Regions from separate parts of the Homo sapiens genome. Here region 2 is linked to region 1. Evidence: promoter capture Hi-C in human tissues and cell types (Jung and others, 2019). All regions are on one chromosome and are shown on one strand. The core of a region is centred on a gene start or on the middle of the fragment in contact, and the rest is flanking DNA. Distances in the headings are between cores, read along the strand shown. Region 1 holds the start of CEP89 (centrosomal protein 89). Region 2 overlaps DPY19L3 (dpy-19 like C-mannosyltransferase 3).

Evidence for each region. Contacts are between HindIII fragments. The study calls those that stand out against the background at their distance.
Region 2: a fragment that was not itself captured here is called in contact with the fragment with the promoter of CEP89 in region 1 in 1 of the 25 tissues and cell types used here (dorsolateral prefrontal cortex).

What each region holds. Positions count from the first base shown.
Region 1 is chr19:32,969,304-32,974,610 of GRCh38, forward strand. CEP89 (centrosomal protein 89) reads right to left here and starts at 2,655. Exons shown (of 19, transcript NM_032816.5): 1 at 2,533-2,655. The coding sequence starts at 2,571. It overlaps FAAP24 (FA core complex associated protein 24), which reads left to right and starts at 2,939. Exons shown (of 5, transcript NM_152266.5): 1 at 2,939-3,043; 2 at 3,881-3,999; 3 at 4,123-4,259; 4 at 4,757-4,909. The coding sequence starts at 3,894. RefSeq lists enhancers at 2,463-2,682, 3,063-3,112 and a silencer at 2,793-2,922. The HindIII fragment of the contact is 5,065 bases long and covers 994-5,307 here.
Region 2 is chr19:32,408,062-32,413,958 of GRCh38, forward strand. DPY19L3 (dpy-19 like C-mannosyltransferase 3) reads left to right here. Exons shown (of 19, transcript NM_001172774.2): 2 at 156-295; 3 at 3,178-3,311. The coding sequence starts at 193. Among named protein-coding and RNA genes, the nearest start is that of DPY19L3, 5.2 kb to the left of the region's middle. The HindIII fragment of the contact is 3,296 bases long and covers 1,947-5,242 here.

The sequences.
Region 1 (5,307 bases), core at 1,405-3,904:
ACCTCAGCGGGGAAGAAGTGTGTGCTGATTGGGCCATTGGCAGGCCCAGAAAAGGCTCCACGAGTTTCCACTCTGGTCAGAGGGACTGGCAGCCCAGCCCCCAGAATTCAGGCCCTCCCTGGCCTGAGGGTGGGGCCTTACTGGGGACCCCACCCCCTTCCTCCTGCTGCCATTCATGGCTGCAGGTCTTGGCTCCGACTCCCCTCCAAGATCAGAGCAGTTGCTGGAGTGGAGAGAGGCCAGGCAGTGGAAGCAGACACCCCTGAGCCTGCAGGGATGGAGGGTGAAGGGGGCTGTCCTTCCTGGGATGGCCGATGGTGCAGGCTACAGAGATGCCCTCGTCCTGTGCCTGGGGGGGCAGCCACAGCTGCACCTGGGAGCTCCCACCCCGCCAACTTGGAAGAGGCAGGGCTCCCACTTGTCCCTGGCTCCTGCCTGCGCGGCTGCAGCTGCATCTGGAAGGGCAAATTCTGCCTGTTCCCGGCTCCCCCAGGAGCAGAGAGGCTCGGATCCACAGCTGCAGTTTGGGTGGCTGTAGCCCTGCCCAAGAGGGTGGGGCTCCTGCCTGCTCCATAGAGCAGAAGGCCTGGGTCTGCAGCAGCGGTTTGCGGCTCCAGTCCCAACTCATGAGGGACGGGGCTTCCACCGGCTCCATGAAGTGTGCAGCCCTAGCCACACAGCGTGATGGCAGCAGCCACTGCCATCACAAGGACCCAAATTCATTTCTTGCTTCCCCTCCTCTTCCTGCGCAGAGTCCCTGTGCTTCAGCACTCAGCGTGGGCTTCCATTTCCCAAACAGCAAATAATTCATTCTTTTTTAGGCCTTGGTATTTGCTGTCTTCTGCACCCAGAATTCTTTCCTTACTCCCTGCCAGGCCCAGGCCAACTCTCCAGGCTGACGTCACTGCCCTTCTGGTACACACATCAACAGCAGTTCTTGTTTTACCATTGTGTACAGAATTATTTATGGGCTTGTCTATCCTACAGACCGTGTGGCCATAAGCTGTCAGTTGTGGGTATCAGCACACAGCAGGGACTCATTAATGTTTGGGGCTTTAAATAAAAACTCAAGCCAGATGCAGTGGCTCACACCTGTAATCCCAACACTCTGGAGGCCAAGGTGAGAGGATTGCTTGAGCCAAGGTTTAAGACCAGCCTGGGCAGCATACCCAGACCCCATCTCTACCAAAAAAAAAAAATTATGTTTTTTTGAGGCAGAGTCTAGCTTTGTCGCCCAGGCTGGAGTGCAGTGGCACAATCTTGGCTCACTGCAACCTCTGCCTCTCGGGTTTAAGCGATTATCCCACCTCAACCTCCCGTGTAGCTGGGATTACAGGTGCCCACCACCACGCCCGCTAATTTTTGTATTTTTAGTAGAGATGGGTTTTCACCATGTTGGCCAGGCTAATCTTGAACTCCTGACCTCAAATGATCCGCCTGCCTCAGCCTCCCAAAGTGCTGGATTACAGGTGAGAGCCACCTCACGTGGCCTCTACAAAATAATTTTTAAAATTAGCCAGGCATTGAGACTTGGCAGAGTGTGAGGCAAAAAATAAAATAAATAAAAAATACCTAGGTGTGGTGGTGCACACCTGTAGTCCCAGCTACTCAGGAGCCTGAGGCAGGAGGATCACTTGAACCCAAGAGGTTGAAGCCACAGTGAGCTATGATCATGCCACTGTACTCCAGCCTGGGCATCAGGACAAGACCCTGTCTCTAAAACTAAATTAAATAATAAATAAATATAAGAATCCCCTTGGCTGCTACGTGGAGAATGGACCTAGGGGAAGGGCGAGAGTGGAAGCAGAGAAACCAGTGAGGATCTGCCGCAGCAGTCCAGACAGATGCTGGAGGCCGGGGTGTGGGTGGAGATGGGAACAGCTGGCAGATGTATGTAGTGGGTATATCGGATGGGACTTGCTGATGGGGTGTACATGGTGGGTGGAGGAGGGAAAAATGAAGAATGGCTATATCCAGCAGTGCAGCAGGTGTACGTCGTCCAGGAGTTAACTCCGGGCACGGGGACGAATGCTACAGGGGAGGCAGGGTGCTCCTGTCCAACTGTGGCCGACCCTGGGGCAGAAGATTGTTAACGCCGGGCACAGTGGCTCACGCCTGTGATACCAACACTTTAGGAGGCTAAGGAGCTCAAGACCACCATAGGAACATAGCAAGATCCCTGTTTCCACAAAAATATTGAACAATTAGCCGGGAGTAGTGGCGCGCGCCTGTAGTCTCAGCTCCTCGGGAGGCTGGGGTGGGAAGATCGCTTGAGCCCAGGAGTTCGAGGATGCAGTGAGCTATGATCGCACCACTGCACTCTAGCCTGGGCGACAGAGCGAGACCCTGTTTCTTAAAAAAAAAAAAAAAAGTTTAGAACACGAAAAATCAAGGCTTCCTCAACTGAAAACCACTTTCTCTTGTGCCGCCCCCTTGACTGGATCTCAGGCCAAACCCCAACCCGCCCCAACACTTTACCCCTAATTCCCGGCCCCACAGAGCCCCACGCGCGGCGGGCGAGCATCTACTTACGAAATGACTCCTGCGGCCTCTCCGAAATCCCAGGAGCATCCTTGCAGCGCGAGGAGAATGGACCGGGGCCTGGACTCATCAGCAGATCTATCCACAGCCAGGGACCACTCCCTAAAGCCCGCCGCAGGCCCAGCCCTCACGCTTTCTCTTCGCAATGGACTTTGCAGCAACCACGTCGGCCATTGGCTCAGCTCGGCCCTCGACCAATCAGAGCTAAGGTTACTTCCACACCGGTCGTTCTTGGCAACCAGTGGGTACCGTTCAAATCCCCGCCAGGGCGGAAACGTCCGCCCTTATCCGTTCTCTTATTGGTCAGGTTAGACGTCCATTTCTGACGCCACAGCCTATCCGGCGCTGCGGGAGGCGGAGGGCGGGCTGGATGAAGGACTGGGCGAGCACCGAGGGCGTGAACCCGGAAGGTGGCGCGGCCACCAGTAACATGATCTCTAGACTGGGACGGTGGGGTTCCTGCCGGCTGTATTCGGGCCTTGGACTGGACTGAGAAGCTACGGTGCGGATCCAGCTGGGGTATCAGGGGCTAGGCACGTGATGAAAATGAAGGACGCGGACACCAGGACAGGAATCTCCTGGTTCTTAGAGAATTTATTTCGCCACAAATAATTGGCAAACGGGATCTCGCTGTATTGCTCAGGCTGGTCTCGAACTCCTGGGCACAAGCGATCCTCACGCCTCAGCCTTGCCCAATGTTGGGATTACAGACGTGAGCTACCATGCCCAGCCCAGGATTCTTTTAAAACTTAAATCTGATCGTGCCTCTGGCCTTATTGGAATCCAATGCCATTACCACCTCCACCACCACACATCCCGTCTCCAGCCACCCTGGCCTTCATTCAGGCCTTTGTGTTTTCTTTTTCTTTTCTTTTTTTTTTTTTTTTTTGAGACGAGTCTTGCTCTGTCGCCCAGGCTGGAGTGCAGTGGCGCGATCTCGGCTCACTGCAACCTCCGCCTTCCGGATTCAAGCAATTCTCTGCCTCAGCCTCCCAAGTGGCTGGGATTACAGGTGCCCACCACCAAGCCCGGCTAATTTTTTTGTATTTTTAGTAGAGACGCGGTTTCACTATCTTGGCCAGGCTGGTCTTGAACTCCTGACCTTGTGATCCACCCGCCTCGCTCGGCCTCCCAAAGTGCTGGGATTACAGGTGTGAGCCACCGCGCCCAGCCTGTGTTTTCTTATTAGTAATTATAAAGGGAATCTTATTTGACAGTTCTTTGACAAATAATTCAGTTTGCAGAGGGGATCCTGCCCCAGAGGCCCTGGCTTGGAGTGGAATGCAGGGCCGTGTGCAGGAGAGCCTGCTCAAGTGCCGCCTGGCTTTTCCCTCCTTAGGTGGAGACCATCCATGGAAAAGAACCCCCCTGATGATACGGGCCCCGTGCACGTGCCTTTGGGGCATATTGTGGCCAATGAGAAATGGCGCGGGTCACAGCTGGCGCAGGAGATGCAAGGTCGGTGGCCTGCCCTCTGCCAGCCCTTTCCTCCCCTGACATATTAAAAAAAAAAAATCTGCCTATTATTGCCATCTTTTCATCCAAAGCTTATGGAACTCATTTTCTTCTCTGTATTTTAAGGGAAAATTAAGCTCATTTTCGAGGATGGCTTGACACCAGACTTTTATCTGTCGAACAGATGCTGCATTCTTTATGTCACCGAAGCTGATTTGGTGGCAGGAAATGGCTACAGAAAGAGGCTTGTTCGGGTTAGAAATGTAAGTATTAGGCTGGGTGCTGTGGCTCACGCCAGTAATCCCAGCACTTTGGGAGGCCAAGGCGGGTGGATCACCTGAGGTCAGTAGTTGGAGACCAGCCTGGCCAACATGGTGAAACCCTGTCTCTGCTAAAAATACAAAAATTAGCTGAGTATGGTGGCGCACGCCTGTAATCCCAGCTACTAGGGAGGCTGAGACGGGAGAATTGCTTGAGCCTGGGAGGCAGAGGCTGTAGTGAGCCGAGATCACGCCACTGCACTCCAGCCTGGGCGACAGAGTGAGATTCCAACTCAAAAAACAAAAAACAAAAACAAAAAAGAAATGTAAGCATTGGATTAAAGAAACTCGAACATTGATTTGTCTCACCCCACCCTTCCCTCCATCCCTTGGTATCATTTATTTAAAATCATTGGCCAGGTCAGGCACGAAGTGATAGCATTCTTAACCTGAAAAGCAATTTGGTTGCAAAATGACTTACTGTCTTTTTTCCTTTCAAGTCCAATAATCTTAAAGGAATTGTAGTCGTTGAAAAAACCCGGATGAGTGAACAATACTTCCCAGCCCTACAGAAGTTTACTGTGCTGGACCTTGGAATGGTGCTGCTTCCAGTGGCCAGCCAGATGGAAGCATCCTGCCTCGTCATCCAGTTGGTGAGTACCGATTCCTACACCTTCGTGGTAGTCCTGTCCTCATGGACACTCAGCTGCTCTCCAGAAGCAACCATCAATCCAATCTATGTCATTCTCTGACTTGGTTTATAAAATCTCTTCGAGGAATTTAAATGCGGAAGCTGCCTCTGCAGCCAGCTCAGCTTGTCACACACTCCAGGCAAGTGTATCACAAAGTATACAAGTTGGAGACCTGATTTTAGATTCTCAGGGTGTGATGGCTCCATCAGTCATTATCCTGCCCTTTCGCTGGTGAAAACGTCAACCTAGAGGCCAGGCGTGATGGCTCATGCTTGTAATCCCAGCACTTTGGGAGGCGGAGGCGGGAGGATCACTTGAGGCCAGCAGTTCGAGACCAGCCTGGCCAACATGGCAAAACC
Region 2 (5,897 bases), core at 2,345-4,844, 560 kb before region 1:
GTGACAGTGAGACCCTGTCTTGGGGGGAAGAAAAAAAAAGGGAGGGCATGCTAATAGAGGGAAAATGGCATAAGTAAAGGCATTTCAGCATGGATGAGCACGGGGTGTGTTGGGGAGAAGGCACTGACGTTGATGGCCTGTTTATTGCTATCTAGGAGTGATTTGGAGAACAATGCATGTAAGTCTGACATCATGATGTCCATCCGGCAAAGAAGAGAAATAAGAGCCACAGAAGTTTCTGAAGACTTTCCAGCCCAAGAAGAAAATGTGAAGTTGGAAAATAAATTGCCATCTGGTAGGTGATTTAAACTAAAGCAGCAATTTGGGTTGCTTTTATTTCTGCATATTAAAATGTCACTCTCCAATAGGATAAAAATTTGGTGGGACCTAACAATTGAAACTTGTTGTAGTACCCTGATATTCTAATTGCAATTTGATTAGATTGATTTTACAGTTATGATTTGACAAAAGATGAAAGAGCTTTGATTAGAAGTGTTTGTCAGCTGTCTGTTCATTAACTTACGGTTCTTCCAATCTCATCCTTTGACTCTCTAGAGTAATGGTCCCCCCACCCACACCCCAGATTTTAGTCTCTCTCTAATTTTTCTGGTCGTGTATACTATTTACACCAGGCAACCTTACCTTGGGTGAGTTTCCATTAAGGTAGTGAAAGGTGGATCAACATTTTTTAAAAATTCTTTATAATTAGTCAAATTCCTGAAGTTTTCTTTTGCTTTTTTTTTTTTTTCTTTTATTGGTGGGAAAAGTAATCAGAACTTGGTCAGTTGTTTGTATAATGGTAAAGACTTGCTAAGTGATGCATCAGATAGCATTAATTACCAACTTCTTGCTTCCTGAGTAGCTTTTGTAACTAAAGCATGGTCAGGATTTTAAAAGTTAACATGAAAATCTTCATACCCATTAACCATTTTGGATATCTGACAGAATTTACATTATTTACAGCCATGTTAATTCTTACCAGCCAGGCTAGTAAAGCAATTCAGGGAAACAGTTTAACAAAAGTAATCTGTAATGGGAGGTCATGACACCTGGCTCAGCCATTAGCGAGTGATTAACACGTTTTGGATAATAGTACTTTCTGAACACCTTAAACAATGCAAAGAAAAAGAAATATACTCCCATCCTGAAACTAACACCAGTGGCACTGTCTTGCTGTCTTAATGTCATATTCTGCACATGTATACCCATAAGCATTCGTATACAGTTTTGCAAAATTGGGATCCACGTGCTGTTTTGTAGCTTGCTATTTTTCTCTTATTATGTTATGAACATGTCATAAGCCAGTTAACGTATTTTTGAAATATCATCTATGTAAAGTATTTTTATAGCTGCCACTGTAGAAGTGAAAGGTTTTCTTACCATTTGCTAATACAGACAGAACTGTGATCAATTTCCTTGTGGCCATATGTTTGTTTAAAACTTTATTTCCTTGGGGCATGTCTTAGTCCATTTCTGTTGCTATAAAGGAATACTTGAGGCTAGGTGATTTATAAAGAAAAGAGGTTTCTTTGCCTCAGGGTTCTGCAGACTGTATGAGAAGCATGGCACCAGCATCTGCCTCTAGTGAGACCTCAGGAAGCTTCCAGTCGTGGCAGAAGACTTAGGGGAGCCAGTGTGTAGAGATCACATGACCAGAGTAGAAGCAATTTCCAGGGAACACAGGATGTCAGGCTCTTTTTTAACCAACCAGCTCCCCTAGGACTAACAGAATGAAAACTCAGTACTGCTAGAATCTCACCAACCTGTTTATAAGGGCTCTGGTTCCATCACCACACCACCTCCCATTAGGCCCCACCTCCAACATTGGGAATCACATTTCATCATGAGATTTGGAGGGGCCGAATAGTCAAACCACAGCAGGGTACATGCCTAGATTGGGAATTACTGGCCAAATGGGATGCTCATTTTGGTGGCTTTTACTCACTGCTGCCATGTTGCATTCCAGAGAGGCACCAATTTATTCTTCTAGCAGCAATGTTTGAAGATGTCTATTTTTTATACCCTTACCAAAACAGTATTAGCATTTTGAAAGCTGTCAAATTGGCCAAGATTTAAGTATAACTCACAGTTTTGATTTGCATTTCTTTAACATTAATGAATTTAAACATCTTCAGTCTGTTATTATTATTGGCCACTTTTTTCTATTGTACATTGCCTGTTCATGTCCTTAATCTTTTTCCTACTGCAGTATTCATCTTGACAGGACAATAAATTGTCCTGAAATAAAATAAATTGTCCTGAAAGTATTCATCTTATGTTAAGGGTATTTAAGCTTTCTTATATGTGCTATCCATATTTTGCCTAGTTTATATGTCCTTTAACTTGAGTTATGTTGGATTATTTATTCTGTGGGTTTTTCCCCCCAGAGCATTCCTGCAAAACCTGTGGGTTTAAAAAAAAAGTTTTAGGTAATCGGCCAGGTGCAGTGGCTCATGCCCGTAATCCCAGCACTTTAGGATCCCAGCTTGGGTGGGTGAATCACTTGAGGTCAGGAGTTCAAGACCAGCCTGGCCAACATGGTGAAACCCTGTATCTACTAAAAATACAAAAATTAGCCAGGCATGGTGGCATGTGCCTGTAGTCCCAGCTACTCAGGAGGCTGAGGTGGGAGAATTGCTTGAACCTAGGAGGCAGAGGTTGCAGTGAACCGAGATTGCACTACTGCATTCCATCTTGGGCAACAGAACAAGATCCTGTCTCAAAAAACAATAATTATTTTTTAGGTAATCAAGTTTTTAAAATAGCTTTTAAAGAATAAGCCACCAATTGTACCTAGATTATCTAAAAGATCGATTACGTCCTAGACACGTAACACATTTAGTCATCCATTTAACAGACTTCATAGTTAAATTACGGTTGTTAAACTGTGCCGGACAGAGGCCCTCAGTATTAAACATGAATAAGATAATGTATTTGTCTTCAAGAAGCTCACGTTGTAGTTGGCAGAATGGACACATGGACAGTTAGATACGGGGTAACAGTTGTAATAGAATGAAAACAGGTCTGTGGAATCAGAAAGGACCCTCCGCTGGAGACAGGAAAAGCTTTCCCAGTGACAGGCAGCTAGACTTAGCTTACTTGATAATCTGAAGTAGAACTATTACATTCTGATTTTTTTACTGACTTAGTTATTTATCTGTTCCATTTTTCCAAAAGGTTGTACCAGTAGAAGATTATGGAAGATTTTGTCATTGACAATTGGTGGAACCATTGCCCTTTGCATTGGACTTCTTACATCTGTCTACCTTGCCACGTTACATGAAAATGATTTATGGTTTTCTAATATTAAGGTATGGAGTTTCTTTGACCATTGTATCATTCACTCAGTGGGATCTCCAGTAGTAAGCCATGTGGATGAATGACCAAGGCAACACAGTTTTGCCATAAAGAATCCAATCTCTAGAAAGGTTGGACTATAGAGTGAAATAACTTTTGTGTTTATTATTTTAAAATAACATATTAGAATCTTTTTTTAAATTTTTCTTTATTATTTATTTATTTTTGAGATGGAGTCTCACTCTGTCACCCAGGCTGGAGTGCGGTGGCGCAATCTTGGCTCACTACAACCTCTGCCTCGCAGGTTCAGGTGATTCTTCTGGCTTAGCCTCCCAAGTAGCTGGGACTATAGGTGCGTGCCACCACACCCAGCTAATTTTTGTATTTTTACTAGAGACGGGGTTTCAGCATATTGACCAGGCTGATCTCGAACTCCTGACCTTGTGATCTGCCTGTCTCAGCCTCCCAAAGTGCTGGGATTACAGGCGTGAGCCACTGCGTCCAGCCAGAATCTTTATTTTTCATTTTAATTTTTTGAGATAGGGTATTGCTCTGTCACCCAGGCTAGAATGCAGTGGTGCAAACATGGGTCACTGCAGCCTCAACCTCCTGGGCTCAAGTGAGTATCCTGCCTAAGCTTCCTGTGTCACTGGGACCCCAGGCATGCACCACCTCACCAAGCTAAATTTGATTTTTTTGTAGAGACAGGGTCTCACTTTGTTGCCCATGCTGGTCTCGAACTCCTGGGCTCAAGCGATCCTACTGCCCTGGTCTTCCAAAATATGAGAATGAGCCATAGCACCCAGCCCAGAATTTTTATAATCAAGTGAGTTTTTTCTTTTTCATTAACTTATTCCATTTATTTAGCAGTTATTCTAAATTAGTATTTTTCAAGTTATAGATTGTGAAATTAGTGCAGTAGGTCATGAGTAACATTTTTCTTAATGAAATCAAAAAGAAAGAATACTATCACATCTAGTAGGGTTGAGGATTGTTTTGTGAAACTTTTAATTTTATATATATATATATATGCACAAACTGGGTCACAGTATACAAGGTACTTCCTTTTCTTTTTTTTCTTGTTGGCTACAACAGGAAAAAAAAAAAACAGAAAAGGAAATAAAAAAGCCACTGCTTTAAATCATGGGGTCTAAATGTGGCTCCACAGAGGGTCCTCAGCATGTTCATGACTATCTAATACTCTGTGCAAGTGGTTTTGCAGGGCATAGGGCGATGGGGAAGCCATATGTTTCCAGGGAAAGGAACTGTAATTTTAATCAGATTTTCAGGAGGGTTAGCCGGGCGTCACGCCTGTAATCCCAGCACTTTGGGAGGTCGAGGCGGGCAGATCACTTGAAGTCAGGAGTTCAAGACCAGCCTGGCCAACATGGTGGAACCCTATCTCTACTAAAAATACAAAAATTAGCCGGGCATGGTGACACACACCTGTAATCTCAGCTACTCAGGAGGCTGAGGCACAAGAATCACTTGAACTCGGGAGGAAGAGGTTGCAGTGAGCTGAGATCCCACCACTGCACTCCAGCCTGGGCAACAGAGCAATACTCTTTATCAAAAAAAAAAAGAAAAAAGTTGAGGGGGTGGTCTGTGACTCTTTAAACACGTTTCCTTGTTTTCTTTCTCTCTCTCTTTTTCAACATTTCTAGAACTCCTCTTGGCATTGTTTTCAGAACTCGTATATAACTTACATGTGGAAATTTGCATCCAAATATACCTTACATTTTAATCTAATATGTCATGATCTTTAACCTAAACTGTGGTGTCTAATGACTAGTTGCTTGTAAAAATAAACAAACACCTTCAAAGCCAAAGATGTGTATCTATAAGAATGTTCGAAAGAAGTGACTGATGAAGGATCTGAAGACATTTTCCAAAGAAAGTTTTCCAAAACATTTTGAGCTTTGATTCTCTTACTGAAATGAGCCTCGAAAGGATATTACTTTGATGACAAATCTAATTTATAAGAATGACCTCTAGTGTGTTTATTTTTAAAACTTGCTGTGTTACTTTATGGGTACAGTATATATATCTTTATACAAATTATCATAGTACCAAAGAAGAATAATTCTTTTTTTTTTTAATTATTATTATACTTTAAGTTTTAGGGTACATGTGCACAATGTGCAGGTTAGTTACATATGTATACATGTGCCATGCTGGTGCGCTGCACCCACTAACTCGTCATCTAGCATTAGGTATATCTCCCTATGCTATCCCTCCCCCTCCCCCCACCCCACAACAGTCCCCAGAGTGTGATGTTCCCCTCAAAGAAGAATAATACTTATCTTTCAGTGACAGTAGGTAGTTCTTCTTGTCAGAAGAATTTTACTCGTTTATATATCTTTTTTTGGGAGGAGCGGGGGCGGGCAGGGTCTTTCTCTGTCCCCAGGCTGGAGTGCAATGGCACAATTACAGCTCGCTGCAGCCCCCAAACTCTGGGCTGAATTGAAGCATTACTCTCACCTTAGCCTCCCGAGTAGCTGGGACCACAGGTGCACGTCACTGTTCCCAGCTAATTATTTAATTTTTTGTAGAGATGGGCCTACTATGTTGCCCAGGCTGTTCTCAAACTCCTGGACTCA